Regions from separate parts of the Homo sapiens genome. Here all the other regions are linked to region 1. The links are contacts of gene promoters, found by promoter capture Hi-C in blood cells and fetal thymus (Javierre and others, 2016). All regions are on one chromosome and are shown on one strand. The core of a region is centred on a gene start or on the middle of the fragment in contact, and the rest is flanking DNA. Distances in the headings are between cores, read along the strand shown. Region 1 holds the start of TRABD (TraB domain containing). Region 2 overlaps BRD1 (bromodomain containing 1). Region 3 holds the start of SYCE3 (synaptonemal complex central element protein 3). Region 4 holds the start of LMF2 (lipase maturation factor 2). Region 5 holds the start of MIOX (myo-inositol oxygenase). Region 6 holds the start of ALG12 (ALG12 alpha-1,6-mannosyltransferase).

Region 1 (3,762 bases), core at 150-2,649:
TGGGAGACGGGAAACACACCTGAGCCAGAGCCCGAGGCCTCCTTGCCAGCACACCTGGCAGCCCCCAACCTCCCAGGACCTGGTCACAGTCAATGCAGAGCCCCCACACTGACCACCATGCAGGGGGCCCCACAGGCTCCTGCCACCCACCCACCCTGCCAGGCCCCCTCCTCGGACCCCACAGCATCAGGGCCTCCGGCGAGGCTGGCCAGCATCCCCACCAGTCACACTGCAAGGGCGGCGGCAGCAAGCGGGGAGCAGAGACACACAGCGCAGTGAGCCTGGCGGCCTGCACGGCCTCTTCAGGGACCTGAAAGCTAGGAGGCTTCCATCTGGAGGCTACCGAGGCTGCGGGAGTCCCCGCAGGGAGCTTAGCACCTCCACAAGTTCCTGGTTGTTTCTGGGACGCTAGTGCCCAGACAGCTCCCACTCCATCTTTCTTGTAAGAGTTTTGACAAAGACACACGGCAGCTTCATGATAGCTCAGTTAAAAAGACCTTTTAAGTTTGGGCTGCGCACAGCGGGGGACGATCTGGCGTCCACTTCGCCCATATGGGAACCCCGCTCTGCTCCAATTGAAGGGCAAAGGCACCTACAGAAGAGCGAAGCCCCAGGTTTCAGCGGGGCCGGAGGGGACAACGGGGGTCCGGGGCCTCCCGCTCGGCCTCCCCCAGCACCCCCAGAGACCCGCAGGCCTGGGCCGCCTTCCTCCACTCTCACCTCGGCCGGCTCCACCGCAGGCGGCAGGCGGGGGTGGCTGGGGCCCTCCCGACCCGCGAGGACCCTGGGACTCGAGGTCCGACCCGCGCCTTCCCGCGAGGCCGCCGCTGACCCTCCCCGCCCCAGCCCTGGGGGGCTCCGCTCCTCGGCAGCGCCGCTCCCGGCAGCGGTGGCAGGGGACGCGCGGGGCCTGCTCCCGCCCCAAACCTGACCCGGGCCTGACCCCCACGACCTGCTCCCCCGGCTCCAAAACCTGACCCGGGCCTGGCCCCCCCAACGACCTGCCACCCCGGCCCCCAAACCTGACCCGGGCCCGGCCCCCAACGACCCTGGTCTACCAGCCCCAAACCCTGAATCTGACCCTGGCCTGACCCCCACGACCTGCTCCCCCGGCCCCAAAACCTGAACCTGATCCGGGCCTGACCCCCACGACCTGCTACCCCGGCCCCAAAACCTGACCCGGGCCTGACCCCCCCCGCCCCCGGCCCCCACCCCCCGACTCGGGCTCGCTCCCCCCGCCCCCCACAGTCACCCCGCGGCCCTGACCCGGGCCCGCCCCCCGCTCGGTGCTGGGCCCCGTCCTCACGCACGCGCCGTCCGCGCCGCGCGGCGTACCGAGGCGAGGCAGCGGCGCTCCTCAGCCGGCCTCCATGCGGCGCGGGCCCTCAACGGACGGGGCGGGCTGGGGCCGCGGGGCGGGGCGGGGCGGACGGGCCGAGGGCGCCGGCGGCCGCGTGGCATGCCGGGAAGTGTAGTCCCACGCGCCTCCTGCTTGGCCCCGGCCCGCAACTTCGGACTACACTTCCCAGGGGGTAGCGCGCGGGGCCCCCGCCCCCCCCCCCCCCCCCGGCGCTCCCGGGTCCTAAGGAACATCGGCGCGCACTCAGGAGGGAGGGTTCGAGTCCCGCCGCGGTCACGGCCTTGCGAGGCGCGCCCACGTTCTCTGGTCGCAGCTCCCAAGCTGTGAAATGGGGACAATGCTCGCACGGCGTCCACAGGATGGTTTTCAGTCGAATGATATTGAAATGTAACTGTTCTGTGAGCCGTCAGTCCCGCACGAAAGGGACAGCCGATAGTGGGACGCGAGGAGCCGAGAACACGGGATCAGGGAACGCGCTGCCATGGCCTCGGCCTGGCCCCCTTCCCTCTGGGGATCGGCCTAGTCCGTCCTCCGGGGGTCGGCCCAGAGCGGTCCCCGACCCGGGACTCATGCCTCAGCGGGACCTCGGCCTTGCCGCAGGTTGGGGCACCCCGGGAAGGTCGGGCCCCAGGGGCCCCGCGGCCAGCCTAGCGGACGGAGAACCGGGACCAGGTGGGAGTCTTAGGGCGGGCCGACCCCCGGCCTCACGGACCCGGACGCTCAGTCACTTCCGATCGTCCGGAGGCCTCCAGGGGGACCCGGCTGGCCGCAGCCACGCCGACGCTAGACTCTCGCTGTGCGTGTTCGGCCCCGAGGGCAGGGGGAGACGGCCAGGCCCCACCCGCCGCGCCCGTCCTGCCCGGGCGCCCGGCCCCCTCGCTGTACCCAGCCTCTACCGGGGCGGCCGGGACCCGGCGGCCAAGTTGCTGCGCGCTGCGGGCACCGGCGCGGACGGGGGCCCGGGCGCTTCGCCGCCGCATGCAGACGACTCGCTGCCCGCAAGCTGCTGCGCCGTCCGCCTGCCCCGCTCTCCTGCAATGGTCCGGCCGCGCATCCCGGGCCCACGACTTCCTTCCTCCTCCACGACCCCGGGTTCTTGGCTGACCTGGCGCTGGCGCTGGGCTTAGTGCAGGCGTGGGCCTGGCAATGGTTTGCCTGCGGGCTGCATGCGCGGACCCCACAGCCAGCTCCCCGAAGCTCTGCGCCCACCTCTACGGCCCTGCCCCAGCCAAAGGATCAGGTTCTTGGAGCGGGGCCTGCCCTGGGGCCAGGACTCCAGTCACCGGGGGAGGGCTGCTGTGTCTTCCTGCCAGGCACTGATGAGTTAGTTGGGGAAAGGGGCCAGGTGGGGCCAGCTGGGGAACCATTTAGAAGAGGGAGGAGGGCGCACCTCTCTACTCGAGTGCCCTAGGACTAGCTCCTCTCTGGAGCCACGGGGAGGACCTCAGTGAGGGCTGCCCCACGCAGGAACCTTCAGCGAGCCTGGAAGGCTGACCCAGCAGGCCTGGGGTTGGGGGAGTCCAACGCAGCGCCCAGGCTTGGTCTGGGTCTGCCTGAGGCCGTCCACCAGGACTCCGTGCTGGGGAGCCTGCTTCCTTCCAGGCTCCAGGAAGGGAGGCCCCGGCCCCAGCCCCAGGTTCTGAGGAGCTGCCCCGGCTCGGGTGGCCTGCAGGGGTCCCCTCAGGTCCCTGGTCCTGAGTCTGCAGGTGGTCCTCCCGGGGTGGGGCGGATGGGTGAAAATGCCTGTCCACACGGCAGCAGGCTGGGCTGGCTGCCCACTGAGCATTCTTACACAAGAGGCCCCGCCCCCTCCTACAGCTTCCTGGTCCCCAAATGGCCAGGCCTGGCCTTAGAGAGGCCTCTGTCCTCCTTGGTGAAGGACACTCACTTTGGGCCCTAGGGCCTCTGGTTCACATCCTCTCCATTGATTCTCATTGTTCGCTGCCTTTGTGGTCATTCTGCCTTTCCGACCATCTCGGCCACATCCTCACAGGAGGGCAGCGGGTGGCAGTCGCCCCGGCTCCACCTCACCCATTTCTCAGTGCTGGGCTGGTGTGGAGGGAAGATCCCTGGCCTGGGGGCTGGAGGCCTGGGTTCTCAGTCTTGGCCATCTGGGATGGGTGCAAGGTCCTCCTGGAGCCCCTCCTTCTCCATGAGAGGGACGGTTCTATCCACCTGCCAGGCCTGCTTATGCTCAGGGAGGGGGAGGGGCAGGAGGGGGCACTATTTCAAACCAACGCTGGCCCCCGGGCTGCAGAACGACCCTCTGACTCACCTGGGCAAGGTGGCCAGTTGGGGAGGGGAGAGTGTCCGAGATCCCAGCCCCCGGTGGGCAGCAGACAGTGGAGAAGCAGAACTGCCCTCCGATCCGGCTGGGGTCCCCTGCAGGGCTGCACTAGGCT
Region 2 (3,762 bases), core at 860-3,359, 410 kb after region 1:
TGTTCTTACACCTGTGGCCTGGAGGATTTGTGGTGTCCACATGGGTTGGGGGCTGGGAGCCTGAGACCAGAGGAGACTACGGCCCATCAGTCAGACCTGCAGGCCTCCGCCTCCCCAGGTGGGCCCTGGGGCTTCTCTTCCCTGTGGGGAGGGGCGGTGTCTCAGCCGCTGTGGCCTTCAGTCTCTCAGAAGACCCTTTGGGGACCTCCCGGGACAGTTTCAGGTGTGCTGTGGACGTACCTGGTGACGGGCAGGCTTCCGGGGACTGCGCTTGGCTGGGCTGTGGGACACCTTTGCGCCATCTCCTTTGGGGGCAGAGAGGGACATTTCTGTGTTCAGTCTTTGGCCTCCTAGGAGGTCACTGGGAAGGCCCTTGAGGGTGGGTGGACCCTGGCCGCTGTGGGAATTCCGTGCAGCTCCTGTGTTGATGGGGCAGCGGCTCTTTCCTGGCAGCCGCCGCCTCTTTTAACGTATTTCTCACAGTCACCAGCTTTACTTTCAGCGTTAAAAAAAAACCTCGTGCTGAAAAAGTTGCTGAAAGTTGCCCCTTGCTATTTACATGATTTAGAGGCTTGGGCTCGGCCTCAGTGCCTGCTGTTTGCAAATGCCTCATGGACCGGGCACCCATCTCTGCAGACCTTAGGCCCTGGGTTCCCCACGTTGGGCCCCACCTCAAGGCTGGCCTGGGCTTCAGAATGTTCTGGGCTGAGGTCCTTGCAGGGGTGCTGAGGTGCGGGTCATGGTGGACATCTCCCAGCTGGCTGGAAGAGCCTCCCAGGGCGGGAGTTGGCAGGGCCGAGATTGAGAGATCTCAGAACCATAGCTGTCTTAGATTATTTTCTGGTGGTCCAGGTGGAGGCTGGGAGGGTCCGGGCAGCGCAGGCCACCTTGCAGCTCCCCCGAGGTTCTGGGGACTCCAGGCGGTGGCTGCAGAGCCTCCCGGGATGTGTCTGTGTCCTGGTCTGGCTTCTTGGCTTCCTGGGTGACCCCGCACTGCCGCAGCCCCCAGACCGCCTGTTAGCAAGCCTTGCAGCTGTCCCACCCCCGCCAGGCCTCCTGCTGGGTGGTGTCTCGGTTGGGCTGGGTTTGTCTGTGCTGCCCACGTCTTCCCGGGTGCTGTCACATTTTCATGGGTGACACGCAGAACCTCTGTGTGTTCTTGCGTCATACGCGCACTCACTGAATGCTTAGGAAAATTAAGAGGGGCATTTTATCATTCTCCTCTTTCTGAGAATTAAGGACTTGCCTTGTGTTTTAATCCCCTTCCTGGCCCCACTCCATGCACACGGAGCCGGGGCCGTCGTGGCTGCTGAGTGGTCTGTGCATGGCTTGGCTGTGTTGGTGCTGGCACAGCTGCGGGTGATCTCGTGCTAGGGCCCTCAGGCTGGCACCTCTGGGCAGTCTTGTGAAGGCCGCACTGGTCATCGTCTTCCCCCAAGTGGCCGTTGCTCGGCCAACCAGTAACTACTAAAAGCCTCCCCACCCAGGCCCTGGGCTGCGTCTGTTCAGCCTGGAGCAGGCTCACCCTGCACCTGGGGTCTGGAGTGTGCTGGGGGCCGGGCTGTGGGGTGTGGGTCGCCAGGCTCGTGGCTGCTCTCTGGAGACGGGTCACACGCGTTGGCAGACCCCTCTCCGGGCCTGTGGGCTGAATGCTGGCAGGGGTGCTGGGCTCCGTCCGTCCACTGCTGATGCGAGCTGGGTGGGCTTCCCTTGCCTTCACCCACTCAGGTTGGAGTAGGGATGGAGTCGCTGCTCCTGAGGGGTTCTCGGGGGCCAGGACGGGACTTTTAATTCCCTCTTGAGACATCTTCGGGGCCTGAGTGTGCAGGGTCTGAGCCCACTCTGTGATGAGTATGGGGAGCATGTGGAGCCCCAGGGCAGCTCAGCGTGTGGCTCAAGGCCTTCTCCTGTAGGTTTTTAAATTTATTTGTTCCCTTGCCAGAAATGAGTATGACACCCCCAACTGGCCACAGTTCCTGCCTTAAAATGACCGAGGTTAAAATGAGAAACACAGAGCTTCCCTTGGAGGTCACGGTACATTCCAGTCCAGGAGAGACGGAGCCGGTGTCTGACTTGAGTCTGTGGAGGGCAGCAGTGCACCCGCCCAATCTGTGCATTCCCTTCTGAGCTTGATTTAGCCCCTCTGTTTCAGTCAGTCATGCTCATTGAGAACAGACAGCAAGTGTATGAAGCGGGTGGAGGCTGATTCAGCCCCTGTATTGAAAAGTCGGTCGTGCTCATTGAGAACAGACGGGAAGCGTACGAAGCGGGTGGAAAATCCCGCAGTCCAGCCATTCCCTTCAAAACATGCCTCCCAGCCACTCAGGAGGCTGAGGCAGGAGGATCACTTGAGCCCAGGAGGTCAAGGTTGCAGTGAGCCATGGAGTCCATTGCACTCCATCCTTGGTGACAGAGTGAGACATCGTTTCCAAAAAAATTCTACAGAAATGCTCTATTTACAAATTTACATAATTTCCTTTGGAAATAGATTTAAAAATTTTTTAAGGATGAGGTAGGTAGGCAGGAAAACGGGGTTCTTTTTGGATAAAAAAATTCACATGGCCGGGTGTCATGGCTCATGCCTGTAATCCCAGCACTTTGGGAGGCCGAGGCAGGCGGATCACGAGGTCAGGAGATTGAGACCATCCTGGCTAACACGGTGAAACTCCGTCTCTACTAAAAATACAAAAAATTAGCCAGGCATGGTGGCGGGCGCCTGTAGTCCCAGCTACTCGGGAGGCTGAGGCAGGAGAATGGCGTGAACCCGGGAGGTGGAGCTTGCAGTGAGCCAAGATCGTGCCACTGCACTCCAGCCTGGGCGACAGAGTGAGACTCCGCCTCAAAAAAGAAAAAAAAAATCACACACCCCTTTAGCTCTGACACCCAGAGGGCCCCCAGCAGGAACATCATCCCCCCGTTGTGACTCCCATGGGGGACCTCATCGGGGGGCCTTGGGCAGATGTGTTGTTTCCCGTTGACTGACAAAGTCAGGATTTTTAGGGGGAAAATACTGAGATTTGCCTTATTTTTTAAACATTGAGATGATGGAATTGTGAGTGGTGTTTTGTTTAGCTGTGTACAGTACTTGCAGCTTCATGGTGAGTGAGGCCAGACACACTCAGACACGGCGATGGCCCCGGATTTTGTGTTTTAAAGTGTTTCGTCAGCATTTTTGACTTCATGTTAACACTTGTCTTTTGAACCAAGGTTTTTTCTTTTTAAAACCTGATTTCCTATTCCCTGGAGCTCTGCTCCTGTGAACATGTTTTTGTGTCTTTGGTGGCCCCTTCGGCCTGGTGAAGTTTCCGTTCAAACGCGGCCGGTGCCCACGTGGACAGGCCGCCCCCGTGTTTGCACTCACAGGTTGCACATCTGCCCCCATGGCAGGCTCACGGCATCCTTTCTTTGCCTTCACAGAGCCTGTCTAAAGACCCGGGCTTGTCAAGAGGAGCATCTTCATGGTGCTCAGCAAACTACTACGATCGGAGCCGACTGCAGTTTGTTAAGTTGATTTCATTTAACGAGTAACTTTGGTGTCTGCTTACTGTAAGGACTATGCTCGGGAACTTGGGAGTGAAAAGGAAGATGCTGTCTTACCTGTCTGTGAAACGTGCTTTGTAAGATGTGTTCCAAGTGTAACGTCGTTGAGTCATGCTTCAGTGTGCCCTGGTTGTGCTGAGCTCAGGGCCTGCCCGCCTGTGTTCCAGGTCTCACCAACGGCTTTGGGGGTGCGAGGAGCGAGCAGGAGCCGGGCGGCGGCCT
Region 3 (3,762 bases), core at 613-3,112, 380 kb before region 1:
TAGTGACAGTTGGTCTCAGATACACAAGGGCATGGGAAGACCAGCCTGACATCTTCCTGGGCTTCATGGCCTGGAGTTTGCAGGGTAGCCCACCTCCAGCTCCTGAGCAGGGTACTCAAGAGCCTGCACATTCCAGCTCAACTGATCTTTCCCGAGTCTTCTCTGTCCCTTACCAAGAACCCTGAGCCCAGAACACACTCGCCATTCCCCAAAGGAGGCAGGCTGAGCCACACCTTCGCCTTTGCCCTAGATGGGCCTTCTGCCTGGAATCCTGTGCCCTTTCTCCTACTCTCTCGGAAGCTGTCTTCCTTAGCCATCAGAATTATTCCTGATTCGGGCCAAGCACAGTGGCTCACACCTGTAATCCCAGCACTTTGGGAGTCCGAGGCGGGTGGATCACCTGAGGACAGGAGTTCGAGACCAGCCTGGCCAACATAGCGAAACCCGGTCTCTACTAAAAATACAAAAACTAGCTGGGCGTTGTGGCATGTGCTTGTAATCCCAGCTACTAGGGAGGCTGAGGCAGGAGAATCACTTGAACCTGGGAGGCGGAGGTTGCAGTGAGCCGAGATCGTGCCACTGCACTCCAGCCTGGGCAACAGAGCAAGACTCCGTCTCAAAAAAAAAAAAAAAGAATTATTCCCTATTCATGTTTCTCTGGGCTGCTGTAACAGAAATCGGCTCTGGGCTGTATAAGCAAATGGAAGTATGAAGAGCAGCTCACAGGTGGAAAGGGATGGCCAGAAAACCGGGTTCAACCGGGGCAGGAACCTGGCAGCTGGCGGAGGGAGTGTGGCCCAGGCAGCAGCCTCCTCAATAAACAAGCGAATGCTCACTCCTTGCCCAGAACTGTCTGGCTCAACCCCAGCCATTTTTCCTCCTCTGCAATCAGGCTGCTAAGAATCAGAATCCCTGAGAGAAAATTCAGGGGGTCTAAGGTTTGTCAGGATTCTCAAACACAAGGTGTTCAAAATCAAAGTTAACCTTCCAAGCTAGCTTCTCCCACTCTTCCACATCTCTGCCAGTGGTATCACCCCGGCCATTAGCCCCTTGCTTCTTTCTCCCTCCCTCCCACATTACCAAGCCCTGTCAAGTCGACCTTGGAATGGCTTTGACCCTGTCCACCACTCAGCCAAACAACAGCAACGGCCGGCCCCGTCGCCACCCGCCTCGGCAGCCAGAGACCTTTTAACTCTGCCACTCGCCTACTTACCACCCTTCTAGGGTGCCCACGTCCCTCTGAAAAAAAAGGCTGAGCTCAGACTGGCCTCTGGTCAGCCTCCTCCCAGCCAGAGCTTTCTGTCACTGCCCTTCTAGGTGTTGAGTGGCTCTGCTTCCAGTTCTTGCCTGGAGACCAGGAGCGCCCGGGAGGCCCCAGCACTTTCCAGCCCACATAGACCTGCGTGCACCTCTGCCTCGTCTCCCTGAGCCCGGGCTGCCTCCTCTGTAAGATACATGCCACATAATGTCCGCCACACATGATCGCTGTGACAGTGGAAATAGCTGGGCGTTCAGCGACTCATTCGACAAATGTTTACCAGCACCTTTGGTACCGGGCGCTGTCCTGGACACTGGGGACACAGCAGGCAAACGGGGCCCTGCGTATAAATCCTTAAGCTCAAGAAGGAGGTGGGGGCAAAACTGTCAGGCCGGGAAGCTCTTCATCTCCGCAGGATTCTCCCTCAACCTCAGGACGTCCCCAGCACCGCACCTGCCAGTCCCAGACTCGGACGCCGCAGACCTGTGGGAGCAGCGCGGAATGCCCCGCCCCTTTTCCCGAGGACACCCAATGAGGGCGAGAGGTCACTTCCGGGGAGGGTTCGCTAACGGAAAGGGCGGGGCATCCCTCTCGAGGAGCGGCCTTGTTCCTCAAGCGGCCGCTGGGGGCGCCAGAGCAGGACCGGAGCGCGGGCCAAGCTGGAGGTGAGCGAGGCCGCGCCCCCCTGGGCCCCGGCCCTCCCAACGCGCCCTGACGGCTGGGCTCCGCCTGACCCTGTCCTAGCGTTCGCGGTGGCACCAACCTCAAGCCAGACCCTTGACTTCGACCCAACTCCACTCACCCGACTCCACTCACTCCACACCCCATGCCCCTCCCCCGACGCCCCTCACCCCGCCTCACCCTTCACCCCTCATCGCTCACGTCACCGCTCACCCGCCTCCTCACCCAGCCTCGCCCCTCACCCCTCACCCCGCCTCACCCCTCACCCCGCCTCACCCCTCACCCCTCATCCCGCCTCACCCCTCACCCCTCATCCCGCCTCACCCCTCACCCCTCCTCACCCCGCCTCACCCGCCTCGCCCCTCACCCCTCACCCCTCCTCACCCCGCCTCACCCCTCACCCCTCACCCCGCCTCACCCCTCACCCCGCCTCACCCCTCACCCCGCCTCACCCTTCACCCCTCACCCCGCCTCACCCTTCACCCCTCACCCCGCCTCACCCCTCACCCCTCACCCCGCCTCACCCTTCACCCCTCACCCCGCCTCACCCTTCACCCCTCACCCCGCCTCACCCCTCCTTACCCCGCCTCACCCGCCTCGCCCCTCACCCCTCATCGCTCACGTCACCGTTCACCCGCCTCCTCACCCAGCCTCACCCCTCACCCCGCCTCACCCCTCACCCCGCCTCACCCCTCACCCCTCCTCACCCCGCCTCACCCCGCCTCACCCCTCCCCCGCTCCCCTCACTGCACACTCCATACCCCACTCTCCCCACCTTACATCCCTCACCTCAGTCCTTCACCCCCTTAACCTAATCTCCATGTCCTCACACCATACACTCCTGATCCTGAAGTCTGCACACCCTGGGCTTCTCATTCCGTGCAGCCTGCCCCTCTTACCCTCACACCTGCCACACCTGGGACCCCGGAGTCCACACACCACCTCACACCCCAAGTTCCCACACGCACCTCTGGCTTCCTCCACCTGCACTTCAGGACCCGCCCAGACTCTTCATAGCCCAACTCCAAGACTTCTCTCCCACATCACAGGTGCATTCCCTTCCTGTGCTGCTCTCATCCCGTACAAAAGAGCACATCTCTGCACCAAGCATCCCTCTTATCCCCTCACATTCCTTGTTCTCAGAGGGATCCCAGACTCTGTTAGAAACTCTTCGTACCAGGCAAGACACTCAGACCACAAACCAGACTCTAGGCTCTGACTCGCTCAACCCCCGTCCTTCACACCTAAAGTGATACCCAAGCCAGACCCTACACTCCCGCCCCACGCTCCCGCCCCACACTCCTCCCGCCCCACGCTCCTCCCGCCCCACACTTCCGCCACCCATCCTAAGCTCCGTTCCATTGTGCTTTGGTGCGGGCTCAGGCCTCTTTCTCCACCCGTTCCCAGTCATCCCAGGCAACCTCATTAGGCAAGAAATGCCGTGAATTCTAATCCTGTGGCTGCTTCCTCCACATCAGCTCTCACACCCTCTCCCTGGATCTCCTTTTCAGATCCATCCCTCTTCTGAGATCCAGTGCCACTCCGGCCCAGCCTCCATCCTTCTAGCAGTCTCATGCTCTATCCCCAAATCTACCTGTGGCCACCCCAACGCCCCACTTATAGAAACTACATGTCTTTTCTATGCCTCTGCTTCACCCCAACCATCAACCACCCCTTAAGCCACTCTCATACTTGTGCTCTCAGTGTCCTTACCTTGTCCATCCACTGCATGTATGTTTACGTTCCCAGGCCTTCTACACTCCATCCACTGTCTCTGTGCCGTCTTAGGGTCCTGAGGACACTGTGGCCATGTGGCCTCAGTC
Region 4 (3,762 bases), core at 861-3,360, 320 kb before region 1:
CAAAATGAGGCTAAAATGGAGAGCAGAGCCAGGTTCAGAGAAGGAAATTTGGGTTTTATTCTGGGCATAATGGAAAGCCACTGAGGGGTTGATTTTAGGCAGAAAACAGTGCTGTGGCCAGATTTTAATTTTTAAGAGTCACACTTGCTGCTGGTTGGAGCACGAATTGGACGGGACAAAAACAGGGATAAGGGAACCCAAATAGGAAGGTTTTACACAAATCCAGGCCAGAGACAATGGTGGCCTAGACCAAATAAAATGGACAACAGATGAATTCAAGTGATATTCCGGTGGTATAACTGATGGAATTCATGGATGAACTGAGTGTTAAGCATGGGGCTTCACTATAGCCACATTTAGCTTTTGCTTTTGGTTGAACAGCGGTGTCATTTTCCGAGATGGGAAAAGCTGGGGTTTAAGCAGAAAAATGAAGAGTTCCACTTTAAATATGTTAAATGAGATGTTTGCGTGACACCCACTAGATGTCAAGAGAGCAGCTGGATATGTAAAGTAGATTTGGAGGAAAGATCTAGGATGGAGCTGCAGATCTGGTAGTTGTCCTAATACAGGCAATATTTAAAATCATAGAAATAAATGACACTTCAGGGTAAATGCATCAGAAGATGACCTAGGCCCCATCCTGAGGAACTCAACACTTAGAGACTGGATAGAAAAGAAAAATCAGGCAATGAAATAGGGAAAAAAAATCCTACCACCATGTTTCAAAAAGAAAGGAGTGGCCAGTCCAACAAATGCTGACTTATGTCCCTTGGATTTGGTAGAATGGAGATCACTGCTGATCAAGACAAGAAACATTTAAGTGTCGTGGACGCCAGACTGAGCTGGGCTGAGGAGTAAAAATGAAGCGCAAATATGGAGCAGACAGCTTAACACAGGTCTAGACAGGGCTGTCAAACATGGAAGAAACACTAATCGCTAACAGGATAGAGCATGGCAATAGCTTGAAATTGGTTTGAAAATCCAAGATAAAAAATTCCTCTGACATCGTGATCCAGACCTCTCAAACACACAAGCATGCTCGCAATAACTGCAATAAAAGCAATAATGCTTTCTAGTCTATTCCACTACGTTAGAGAAACGGCTGGTCACCACCCACTCAATCATTCACGGCTCGCTGACGGGTAGAAACCTGCAATGACAGGTCCACGCTAATCCAACAAGGGATGATTTGGGGAGGCAGAGATGGAGTTTGAAAAGAAGCAGGGAGCCCGAGGACCTGCGCGGCCAGAGCGCCAGATAGCCATAGGCGTGGAGACGGTGGGGCGCCCACAGCCCCGGGCCCGGAGCCCCCGCCCCGCAGCCCCACCCGCCGGCCCACCCCGCGTCACTCCCCCGCCGCCCTTACCTCCTCCAGATACTCGCCCAGCTGGGCCGCCACGTCCACCTCCCAGTTCTTGGTGAGGTCGCGGATGGGCTGCAAGAGGTGGGCGAAGCGCGCCTCCACGTCCTCCATGTCCGGGAGGGAACGGGCGGCAAAGGGACCGCAGGGCTGCCTTCCGAGGGGTACGGCGTCCTCAGCCCGCCACTAGTTCTGGCGCCATTTTGCTGTTCCCGCCCAGGAAAATGCGTAGGCGCGGCGTCGCGCGCATGTCTATGACGTAACGTGGGCAAAAGCCAGAGAGGCGAACCCCGGCGCCGCGCAGCGGGAGCTCACCGGAAGAGTCGCGGGGCGGGGTCGAAGCCTCCGGGAGGGGGGGGTGGGCGGAGCTTTGGGCTGCCACCAGTTTGGACGGGAGGGCTTTTGGGGCCGCCGTGGGTCGGGCGGGGCGGGGTGGGGCGGGGCCTGGAGCTGCCGCGGGCGAGCGGGCCGAGGAGGCGGGGCTTGGGGGCTGCCACGGGTTGGGGGGGCGGGGCGGTGAGGAGGCGGGGCCTGGGGCAGCCGCGGGCGGGCGGACGGGCCGAGGAGGCGGGGCTTGGGGCTGCCACGGGTTGGGCGGGCGGGGCGGTGAGGAGGCGGGGCCTGGGACTGCCGCGGGCGGGCGGGCGGGCCGAGGAGGCGGGGCTTGGGGCTGCCACGGATTGGGCGGGCGGGGCGGTGAGGAGGCGGGGCCTGGGGCTGCCGCGGGCGGGCGGACGCGGAGGGCGGGCCCTGCTCTAGCGGGCCGCGTAGCGGACATGGCGGGCTCCCGGCTCCCGCGGCAGCTCTTCCTCCAGGGCGTGGCGGCCGTCTTCATGTTTGCTTTCGCTTCCCTCTACACGCAAATCCCAGGTGAAGGCACCCAGGGTGGGACACCCCCAGCCTCGGCGCGGGACCCTATGTCCTCTTTTCTCTGTGCCCGGCACTCACGCAGTCCGGGGTTGGGAGTGAGGGCCAGGCCTTGGCGTGGGGTAGGGGGCGGCGGTTCGTGTCCTGCAGGCCGCTGTGGGGGTAGGAAGGTGTGCGGTGATCCATTTCCCGTAAGGCTCTGGACTCTGACCTGGGGTGGGGGACAGAACTCTGAGAGAGGTGGGAGAGAGGCTTCCTCCCAGACCTGGTGGGACAGGTAGGAGATCGGGCTGAGACCTGGAAGAGGGCAGTGGGCTCTGCTGGGTGGGAGGCCCTGACTCAGGTAGTTGAGCAGGCCTCTAGCCCTGGGACGGGGTTTTGACAGGTCCCGACCTGGGGGACGGGCTCTGGAGGGACTGCAGACTCTGACCTAGGGATGGAGGTATCCGCATGCTCTGACCTAGGCTGGGGGATCTGCAGGCCCTGACTCAGAGGTAGTCTAGTCTGCAAGGGCTGTCCAGGGCCTGGCCATGACATGCCCTCCCACAGGCCTGTATGGCCCCGAGGGCATCCTACCTGCAAGGAGGACGCTGCGGCCTCAGGGCAAGGGGCGCTGGCAGCAGCTGTGGGAGACCCCGACGCTGCTGTGGGAAGCGCCGAGACTGGGGCTGGACACGGCCCAGGGCCTGGAGCTGCTGAGCCTGCTGGGTGCACTAGTGGCCCTGGGAGCCCTGCTGCTGAGCCCACTGCGCCACCCTGTCATCTACTTGCTGCTTTGGGCCGCCTACCTGTCAGCCTGCCAGGCAAGTGGGACCTGTGACCAGCTCACTCTATCTCCAACCCCCACCACCCACCCCTGCCTCTACCTTACCTGAGTCCACAGACACACCCGCTCCCTGACAGCCCCTCTCTCCGCAGGTGGGCCAGGTGTTCCTTTATTTCCAGTGGTGAGTGACGGCTGGGCCTGGGGCTGTGGGAGGCTGGGTAGGGGGTGGGGGAGGGCTCTGCCCTTCCTGGGAGGACTTTCCGAGGGAAGCAGCTGTGTGGGGAGGGGCTCTTGGTGCTATTTGCTCTCCCCATAGGGACTCCCTGCTGCTAGAGACTGGCTTCCTGGCCGTGCTGGTGGCCCCGCTGAGGCCAGCCTCCCACCGCAAGGAGGCCCCCCAGGGCAGGCAGGCAGGGGCCCTGCCCCACGAAGACCTCCCCTTCTGGCTGGTGCGATGGCTGCTGTTCCGCCTCATGTTCGCCTCAGGCGTGGTCAAGCTGACCAGCCGCTGCCCTGCGTGGTGGGGGCTCACTGGTGAGGGGCCCGGTCTGGACCTGGGGTAGTCTGGGGGCTCGGCCAGCCCTGACTCCTGCCCTCGCCTGCAGCCCTCACCTACCACTACGAGACCCAGTGCCTGCCCACGCCCGCCGCCTGGTTCGCACACCACCTGCCGGTCTGGCTGCACAAGCTCAGCGTGGTGGCCACCTTCCTAATTGAGATCGCTGTGCCGCCCCTGTTCTTCGCCCCCATTCGACGCCTGCGCTTGGCT
Region 5 (3,762 bases), core at 1,049-3,548, 300 kb before region 1:
GGAGCACCTGTATCGAGGATCCTGGAGGTCAGGGTTGTCCTGGAAGGTGGAGTCGCAGAAAACCACGGAGGCCTGCGGACGGCATCCGACGGGGAAGGTGTCGCCGACGACAGCCCACTGCAGAGGGACAGGAGGGACGGGAGGCCATGGGGGGAGTGGGGGAAGGTGTCGCCGATGACCACCCACTGCAGAAGGACAGGAGGGACGGGCGGCCATGGGGGGAGTGGGGGAAGGTGTCACCGATGACTGCCCACTGCAGAGGGACAGGAGGGACGGGCGGCCATGGGGGGAGTGGGGGAAGATGTTGCCGATGACTGCCCACTGCAGAGGGACAGGAGGGATGGGAGGGACGGGAGGGACAGGAGGGACGGGAGGGATGGGAGGGACAGGAGGGACAGGAGGGACAGGCAGCCATGGGGGGCCGTGGGGGAAGTGGGGGAAGGTGTCGCCGACGACCGCCCACTGCAGAGTGACAGGAGGGACAGGCGGCCATGGGGGGCCGTGGGGGGAGTGGTGCGGGGAGGCCGTGGGGGGTGCACTGGCCTGTCCCCCAGGTAGTATCCCAGGCCAAGCACCGAGGCCACCAGAGGGACAGGCAGCCGTGGGGGGGGCCGTGGGGGGTGCACTGGCCTGTCCCCCAGGTAGTATCCCAGGCCAAGCACCGAGGCCACCAGAGGGACAGGCAGCCGTCGGGGGGCCGTGGGGGGTGCACTGGCCTGTCCCCCAGGTAGTATCCCAGGCCAAGCACCAAGGCCACTCCACCCCCACCTTGCCTCAACATGCAGCCTCCTCACCCTCCACTTCCAACTCTTACCTGGGGCTCCCCGAACAGGGCCAGGACCTTCCCCAGGTCGTGCAGGAGCCCGACGAGGTGGAACCAGTCTGGGAGGGGGATGGACAGGGCAGGTTGGGGACTGCAGGGGCCAAGGCAGAGGATGAGCAGGTTTGCGGGGCTGAGAGCCAGGAAGGGTCCAGGGCCTGCTCCCCAACCCAGGCAGGGCTGCTGGAGGAGGCCTGGGCCCACTACTGTCCCCTCCCACCCTACAGGCTGCTGCATTCTGCCCCTTGGAGGCAGCACCTGCCCCCCTGCAGCACAGCCAGGGCTCACCCTTGTCTGGGTGGGCCTTCCGGATGCCCTCCGCTGTCTGGAAGGCATGGAAGGAGTTGGGGAAATCTACGTCCGGGTCCGACTCATCCACCAGCCCATCCAGCAGGTCCACGGCCTCCATGACTGTCATTTTCTTGTAGGAGAAGCCCCCAAACTGGGCATGCTGGCGGGGAAGGAGAAGGCAGTGTGGCCCAGGGTCAGCAGGCCCACCACACAGGCCTCTCCATCCCCTCGGCGCCTGGTGGGCTCATGGGGCTGAGGGCAAGGGTCCCTCCGCGTTTGCACGGGGCGGCAGGAAACGCCTACCTTGCTCCTGACGAAGTCCACTGTCTGGTGCGTGTGCATGAGCTTGTAGGTGGTGAAGACACGGTCCAGGAGGGGACCTGACTGCAGGCCGGAGGGTCAGTGGCGCCACCCCCACCCTGCACACGAGGCCCCATGCCTCCCCTCTCCCAGGCAGCCCCACAGGGTGTGATGGGGGTGGGAGTTCCCACAGGGCACCCCCTGGAACTGTGTGAAGGGCAAGTGCTGCTCCCCAGGGTGTGGATGGGGGAGAAGGGGGGCAGGACGGCAAGGTACTCACCGTGTAGTTCCGGAAGCTGGCCTTGTCTTTGGCCACCTCTGGGTCCACATCAGGTCGGTAGACCAGGGAAGGGTCTGGGCCCTGGGTAGGTGGAGGATTGAACCTATTTCACCATCATGTCAGCTCCACGAGGAAGCACAGACATTCCCAGGGTGGCTGCAGACTCCAAGCCTGCCTCTGCTCGAGGGCTGGTGGGTGACACGCGAGGACACAGCCTCTCCCACGCCATCATCCCAGCCCCTGCCCTGGCCTCAGCGAGTCCCAGGAGCTCTCACTCCCAGGTCCTCATCTGCAAAGCGAAAGTCAGCAGACGTCTGCTTCCGGGGTACAGGGGACACCACGCCTGAGCGGCACCCATGGCCACCCTTGAGGGGTGGAAGTGGCTTTGGGAGGAGACTGAGTCCACAGGGAGCCTGGGGGTCGGCAGCCGCTGGCTCTTGCCCAGCTGGACGGAGGAGGAGGGCTGGCCAGTGCCAGCTAGAAGAGGGCGGGAGTGGCTGGCCACCAGGAGAGCAGTCAGCAGAGCCTCTCTGCATGGGGTCTGGGTACTCACCACCGTCACCTTCATCCTGAGAGGGAGCGGCGCTCAGGTGGCAAAGCACAGGCTGGCGAGTGTGTCCTCAGCCAGGCTCCTATATACACCCCAGGTTACATAAGTGTCCGCAGTAATAAATGACCATCCACCCTCCTCCCGGCCTCAGGGAGTTAATGTGTCAGCACAGCAGCAGCCCCCAGCAGTCCCACATCCTCTGGCCCTGACTCAGCCTCACACTCCTGTCCCGAGCCGCTGACCTGCCTAGGGTTATCTGTGGGCCCAGCCTCCCACTTGGGCCCTGGCCTTAGACCCCTCTGTGGGGTCCCACAAGTAGGGGCAGACCCAAGACCCCACCCTCAAGCACACGCCCCCTCTGCACCACCCCTTCCCCGGCTGCCCCACTGGATCTCAGGAGGTGAAAACTTGTCCCCAGGCCCCCCGTGATTCTGGGTGGGGCAGGAGCTTGTTAAGAAAAGATGATTCTGAGGACTTGTTAAAATGGTGAGAAAAGCTTTATTCAAGAGAGTGGTGAGAGGAGCTCACCTCCGAGTTCAACAACCACAGCTGGAGATTGATGGCGTTGGAGGGGTCAGCGGATGGGAAGTTGTTAGGGCGGCCTTCGAGGGTAGGGGGATTCTCACTGGAGTGGCTCAATGAGGATCTTGCAGGAGGCCGGCAGGGTGATGAGATCAAGGGTGGGAGATGAGGAATGGGATCAGATATCGAGGGTGGGTAATTCTCCATAAACTGATTTAGAGGATTCTTGCTAACACCGGGGTCGGCGGGCCCAGCGAGGATGGGGATGGGGTCAGGCCTCGTCGAGGAAAGGACTCAGGGGCACCTGCCTAGAGTTCGGCCACAGAGTGTGTCAGGCTCTGGGAGAGGGGCCTCACGGAGAGTTGGAGCAGGCACGGAACCGCCAACACCCAGGCCGCCAACGCAACTTCCCATGCATGGGCCCTGCAGGCATGGAGGACACCGTGAGAACAAAGTGCCCGCGGCAGAGCTGGCGTCTTGGAGCGTGGCCAGGGAAGTCTGGGAACAGCAGTCGGCTGGGGCAGGAGAGAGGGCAGTGGGGTGCTGGGGCCATACCTAGGGCTGTGAAGATCAGAGTTCTGGGCTTCAGGGGTCAGGCAAGAGGGCTGTGGGCAGCTGACCTGACTCAACAAGATCCTGGCACAGCTGAGCTGAGAAGCAACTGTGAGGAGACCCCAGCGCCCCCCATTTAAACGGCACCTGCCCCACACTCTCCTTCCTTGTCTGACTTCCTGTGGCACTCAGCACTCCCTGCCACTCCACCACCCACTTATTCTACCTTCTACGTTTGTCTCCTTCTATCTCCCCCTAGAATGTCAGCCCCTGGGGGTCAAGGCTGTATCCTCACGTGTCCCAACACGGGTAGGTCACGTGCTCAGCATGCACTGGCCAGAGGGATGCAGACAGGTGCCTGGGAGGAGGCTACGGCCATCGCCCCGAAAGCAGGTGGTGCCTGGGTCAGGAGAAGGTGTCTGGATAGGTTCAGGAGGTGGGACCGGG
Region 6 (3,762 bases), core at 587-3,086, 270 kb after region 1:
TGGGATTTCCCTGAGGAGAAACGCACCGAGACAGTCGGGACCGTAGGTTCCTGGAGAGCAGCACACTTTCAGTGTCTTCACACAAAACCACTCGAATAAGTCAGGATATTCGCTCTTCCTGAGGATGGAGGAAAACATTCACTGAATCCCAGCAGACACGGTTCTTTAAAACAAACATGCAGCTGAACGTAACATATGCTCTGGAGTATTGTAAGGTCCAGGAAACAAGAGTCTAGGTGTGGACAGAATCTTCTCCTTAATTTCCTGGTTTTGATCGCTGACTCTGGTGATAAAAAACGGTAATGCAGGGGTAAGGTGGGTGCGAGGCAGGTGGGAGCTCCCTACTGTTCCTGTACCTTTCTAAGTCTGAGGTTATTTCAAATTCTAAGTTGGAAAATAAAAAGTATCTTCTAAGAGGTTTTAAGGCACTCACAGCTGCAGCCACCAGGCCTCCAGGTGCTCCTCCTGCGCCTCTAGCATCTGATTGCATTCGAAGTCGCTGCTCTCGCACAGCCCCTCCAGGATCTCCAGCAGGCGAATCTCGCTGAAACACAGGCCCACACCGGCCCACCGTCAGCGCCTCCAAGGCAGTGAAGAAAAATCCGAACCAATACGCCAACCTGGGTGCAGGGGCCGGGGAGCCAGGACTCCGGGCACAGAGAATAAGGGGACCCCACTGTCAGGGGAAGCCAGGAGCGGTTCCCACAAGTGGGGCTGGTGTTCCAGTTTACATTTTGAAAAGCCACTGTCTGTTGAGGGGGTAGGGACCAGAGCAGAAGCTGGAAGGCCAGAGAGGGGCCAGCCATTAGTCCTCAGGGAGAAGCCGAGGTGACTCGGACGGGTGACTGGTGCCTCGGGGGCTGTTCTGTCTCCCTGTCATTAACACAGGCACCAAAGGCAGGACACGACTTCCCAGGACAGCGCCAGGCCAAGACCCACAGGGGTGCTCCAGGGCACCCACCTGGACTCGTACTTGGACAGCGTCTTTTCCTCCCAAGCCGTGTTCCCGCCGCCAAAGTTCTTCTTTGCGGTGTCCACCATCCCCTGCGAGGAGACAGTGCCCATAGTGCTTGGTACCACCTGACCCGGGTCCAGGGTGGGGGCGAGCCCAGGTCGAGGGTGAGGGGACTCCAGGCCCACGGTGGCGTCGACCCTGGTTCCACGGTGGGGGTGGATCCGGGTCAAGGGTGAGGGGGACTCCAGGACCACGGTGGAGGGACTCTGGATCGACGGTGAGGGGGATCCCGAATCCAGGGTGAGGGGGACCCCGGATCCAGGGTGAGGGCGACCCTGGGCCCAAGGTGGGGCGACCCCGGATGCAGGGTGAGGGGGACCCCGGGCCCAAGGTTGACGACCCCGCCCGGCCCCTTCCCACCTGGTTAAACTTGTCCACCAGCCCCCGGCACCGGTGGCAGGGCGTCGGCTTCTTGGCGGCCTCCGGCGCGGGCGGCAGCAGCAGCAGAAGCGGCAGGAGCCCCAGCGCGGCCCGGCGCGGCAGGCGCATGGCGGGTAGCGCTGCGGGAAGACGCAGCCGGAGCTCCAGGTCCTGCGGCCGTGCTGCTCCGGCCTCCCGGCCGCCCACCCGCTCCCAGCCGCGCCGGCCTGTCCCCCAGGCTACTTGACGGCGCCGGCGAGGCCCCGCCCCACCCGCCAGCCCCGCGCCGCTATTGGTTGATGGGACCCGCCCCGGCCTGATATGGCCCAATCCGAGTTCGCCACGAGAGGTGACCAATGGGAAGGCCCCGGATCAGCGGCCGCCAGGAGTCCGGGGGCGGGGCGTGCAGGTCCGACCCCGCCTCCCGCTCCCCGCCCCTCGCGCGCAGCCCGCGGCGGCCATCTTTACTCAGGGCACAGAGGGTCTCTGCGGCCGTAGCGGCCGGGGCTGCGGTAGCCACTTTAGATTTGGGCAAGGACTTTAGATTCGGGCTCTGTTCTGTTTCCGCCGTCCTGCTTCCTGCCGAGGCTGGCCCAGGCAGCCGCGCTTCGAAGGACGCCGCCGGGAGCTGCGGAGGTCAGTGCGCGCTGCCGCGACCGGGGCCTTCAGGCGGGCGCGCGGCGAGACCAGGGAGGAGGCGGGCGAGGGCGCGACCCGAGCTGGCGCTGGCGCTGGATTCCTGAGGCCTCACCGCGCATGTCCACGCGTCACAGCCCCGTGCTCCTTACCTGGGGCTGCACCCCTCACTTGGGGCCGGGCTCCTCACCTGGGGCTGGACCTGTCACCTGGGGGCCAGACCTCTCACCCGGGGGCCGGACCTCTCATCCGGGGGCCCGACCTCTCACCTGGGGCTGGACCTCTCACCTGGGGCCGGGCTCCTCACCTGGGGCCGGACCTCCCACCTGGGGGATGGGTTTTTCACCTGGGGGCTGGGGATCTGGGGTCCACTTAGGGTCTCTGGGGGCTGGGGATCTGCATTTCTACAGGCGCTTGAGGTGATGAACACTCGCTCATGTTCAGGAACCCCTGGTTTAAATTAGGGGAAATAAAACGTGCAGCGTCTGGATTTCAGAGAACTCCTGCCTGTGGAAGGAAGGAGTGCAGATAACACTGCACATTTAAAAAAAAAAAAAGTAACATCTGATTTGACCAGTTTCTTTTCTGTTTTTTTGAGACGGAGTCTCACTTTGTCGCCCAGGCTGGAGTGCAGTGGCGCGATCTCAGCTCACTGCAAGCTCCGCCTTCCAGGTTCCTGTGATTCTGCTGCCTCAGCCTCCTAAGTTGGGATTACAGGCACCCACCACCAGGTCCGGCTAATTTTTGTATTTTTAGTAGAGACGGGGTTTCACCATGTTGGCCAGGCTGGTCTCGAAGTCCTGACCTCAAGCGATCTGCCTGCCTCAGCCTCCCAAAGTGCTAGGGTTACAGGCGTGAGCCACCATGCTTAGCCTGATTTGATCAATTTCGGTAGAGGCCTTAAAATCTGGATTGATGGGGACAAGAGGGTCTTTGCAGGTCATTCCCTAATCTGAGATGCCATTGTTCTGTAAACCACCATTTTAAAGTGTCATGGCCTGGGCCCGTTTTAACCTGTGGGTGCTCTCGAAGCACCCGTCACTTAGATTAGCCACAGCTGCTGCCCAGCTGCCCAGCAGAGTGGGCTAGTGCAGGACAGTGTCCGTTCACCCTCGCCTGGTGGGGGGTTCGTCGTGGTTTTCGTGCTTGCTGGTGTTGACTTGGTCTTCCCGTGCTCCTGGCAGAGAATCCAGACTCACCCTTGGTCTTCTCATGCCCTCGAAAGTGAGCTGTGCTGGTCATCAGCAGAAGGCACACCTTGTTGGGTCCGAGGAGGTGCTGGGGGCCCGCCAGGAGTGTCAGAGTCAGCACGTAATGTTTTCACCCCACAGCTGAACTCTTCCTTGCTGGGGAACTCCCCTGGGTGGAGAGGTGTGGAGTGGGGTTGTGGGGGACTGCCAAGCAGCACTTGCTGTGTGCACCTCCCACATCTTGGCACGTAGATGCTCCCCGTTCCGTTTTATTTTTTATTTTTGTAGAAATGGGGTCTCATGATGTAGCCCAAGTTGGTCTTGAACTCCGGGCCTCAAGCAGTACCCCCCATGTCAGCTTCCTGAGTAGCTGGGATTATTTTTGTGGAGATGGGGTCTGGCTCTGTAGCCCAGGTTGGTCTTGAACTCCTGAGTAGCTGGAATTACAGGCGTGAGCCAACACATCCGGCTTGCTTCCTATTTCTTTTTTTTTGAGACGGAGTCTGGCTCTGTTGTCCAGGCTGGAGTACAGTGGTGCGATCTTGGCTTGCTGCAACCTCT

The links. The method cuts DNA at HindIII sites, captures the fragments that hold promoters and counts their contacts. A CHiCAGO score of 5 or more calls a contact.
Region 2: a contact is called between a fragment that was not itself captured here and the fragment with the promoter of TRABD in region 1, in 1 of 17 cell types (erythroblasts). The highest score is 5.0, in erythroblasts.
Region 3: a contact is called between the fragment with the promoter of SYCE3 here and the fragment with the promoter of TRABD in region 1, in 5 of 17 cell types (monocytes, total CD4 T cells, neutrophils and 2 more). The highest score is 8.2, in monocytes.
Region 4: a contact is called between the fragment with the promoter of LMF2 here and the fragment with the promoter of TRABD in region 1, in 10 of 17 cell types (fetal thymus, erythroblasts, total CD4 T cells and 7 more). The highest score is 8.9, in fetal thymus.
Region 5: a contact is called between the fragment with the promoter of MIOX here and the fragment with the promoter of TRABD in region 1, in 1 of 17 cell types (M0 macrophages). The highest score is 5.7, in M0 macrophages.
Region 6: a contact is called between the fragment with the promoter of ALG12 here and the fragment with the promoter of TRABD in region 1, in 3 of 17 cell types (endothelial precursors, erythroblasts and neutrophils). The highest score is 6.9, in endothelial precursors.

Annotation. Positions count from the first base shown.
Region 1 is chr22:50,183,550-50,187,311 of GRCh38, reverse strand. TRABD (TraB domain containing) reads right to left here and starts at 1,399. Exons shown (of 10, transcript NM_001320485.2): 1 at 1,336-1,399. RefSeq lists silencers at 651-960, 1,227-1,596, 1,867-1,966, 2,157-2,226 and an enhancer at 3,112-3,687. The HindIII fragment of the contact is 17,327 bases long and covers 1-3,762 here.
Region 2 is chr22:49,777,759-49,781,520 of GRCh38, reverse strand. It overlaps BRD1 (bromodomain containing 1), which reads left to right. Exons shown (of 13, transcript NM_001304808.3): 9 at 3,708-3,762. Among named protein-coding and RNA genes, the nearest start is that of BRD1, 48 kb to the left of the region's middle. The HindIII fragment of the contact is 4,505 bases long and covers 1-3,762 here.
Region 3 is chr22:50,561,019-50,564,780 of GRCh38, reverse strand. SYCE3 (synaptonemal complex central element protein 3) reads left to right here and starts at 1,862. Exons shown (of 3, transcript NM_001123225.3): 1 at 1,862-1,923. LOC107985568 (a long non-coding RNA gene) reads right to left here and starts at 1,820. Exons shown (of 2, transcript XR_001755606.3): 1 at 1,214-1,820. RefSeq lists silencers at 1,761-2,170, 3,241-3,439. The HindIII fragment of the contact is 5,765 bases long and covers 1-3,762 here.
Region 4 is chr22:50,506,050-50,509,811 of GRCh38, reverse strand. LMF2 (lipase maturation factor 2) reads left to right here and starts at 2,110. Exons shown (of 14, transcript NM_033200.3): 1 at 2,110-2,230; 2 at 2,777-3,030; 3 at 3,146-3,174; 4 at 3,310-3,527; 5 at 3,599-3,762. The coding sequence starts at 2,137. NCAPH2 (non-SMC condensin II complex subunit H2) reads right to left here and starts at 1,588. Exons shown (of 20, transcript NM_152299.4): 1 at 1,367-1,588. The coding sequence starts at 1,474. RefSeq lists silencers at 1,050-1,339, 2,010-2,109 and an enhancer at 2,330-2,379. The HindIII fragment of the contact is 8,515 bases long and covers 1-3,762 here.
Region 5 is chr22:50,485,395-50,489,156 of GRCh38, reverse strand. MIOX (myo-inositol oxygenase) reads right to left here and starts at 2,298. Exons shown (of 10, transcript NM_017584.6): 1 at 2,245-2,298; 2 at 1,692-1,772; 3 at 1,415-1,495; 4 at 1,109-1,271; 5 at 815-882; 6 at 8-117. The coding sequence starts at 2,259. ADM2 (adrenomedullin 2) reads right to left here. Exons shown (of 3, transcript NM_001253845.2): 3 at 2,720-3,762. The HindIII fragment of the contact is 4,673 bases long and covers 1-2,739 here.
Region 6 is chr22:49,916,512-49,920,273 of GRCh38, reverse strand. ALG12 (ALG12 alpha-1,6-mannosyltransferase) reads left to right here and starts at 1,836. Exons shown (of 10, transcript NM_024105.4): 1 at 1,836-2,011. It overlaps CRELD2 (CRELD disulfide isomerase 2), which reads right to left and starts at 1,640. Exons shown (of 10, transcript NM_024324.5): 1 at 1,376-1,640; 2 at 962-1,044; 3 at 434-544; 4 at 27-118. The coding sequence starts at 1,504. RefSeq lists silencers at 1,437-1,936, 2,047-2,246. The HindIII fragment of the contact is 6,188 bases long and covers 1-3,762 here.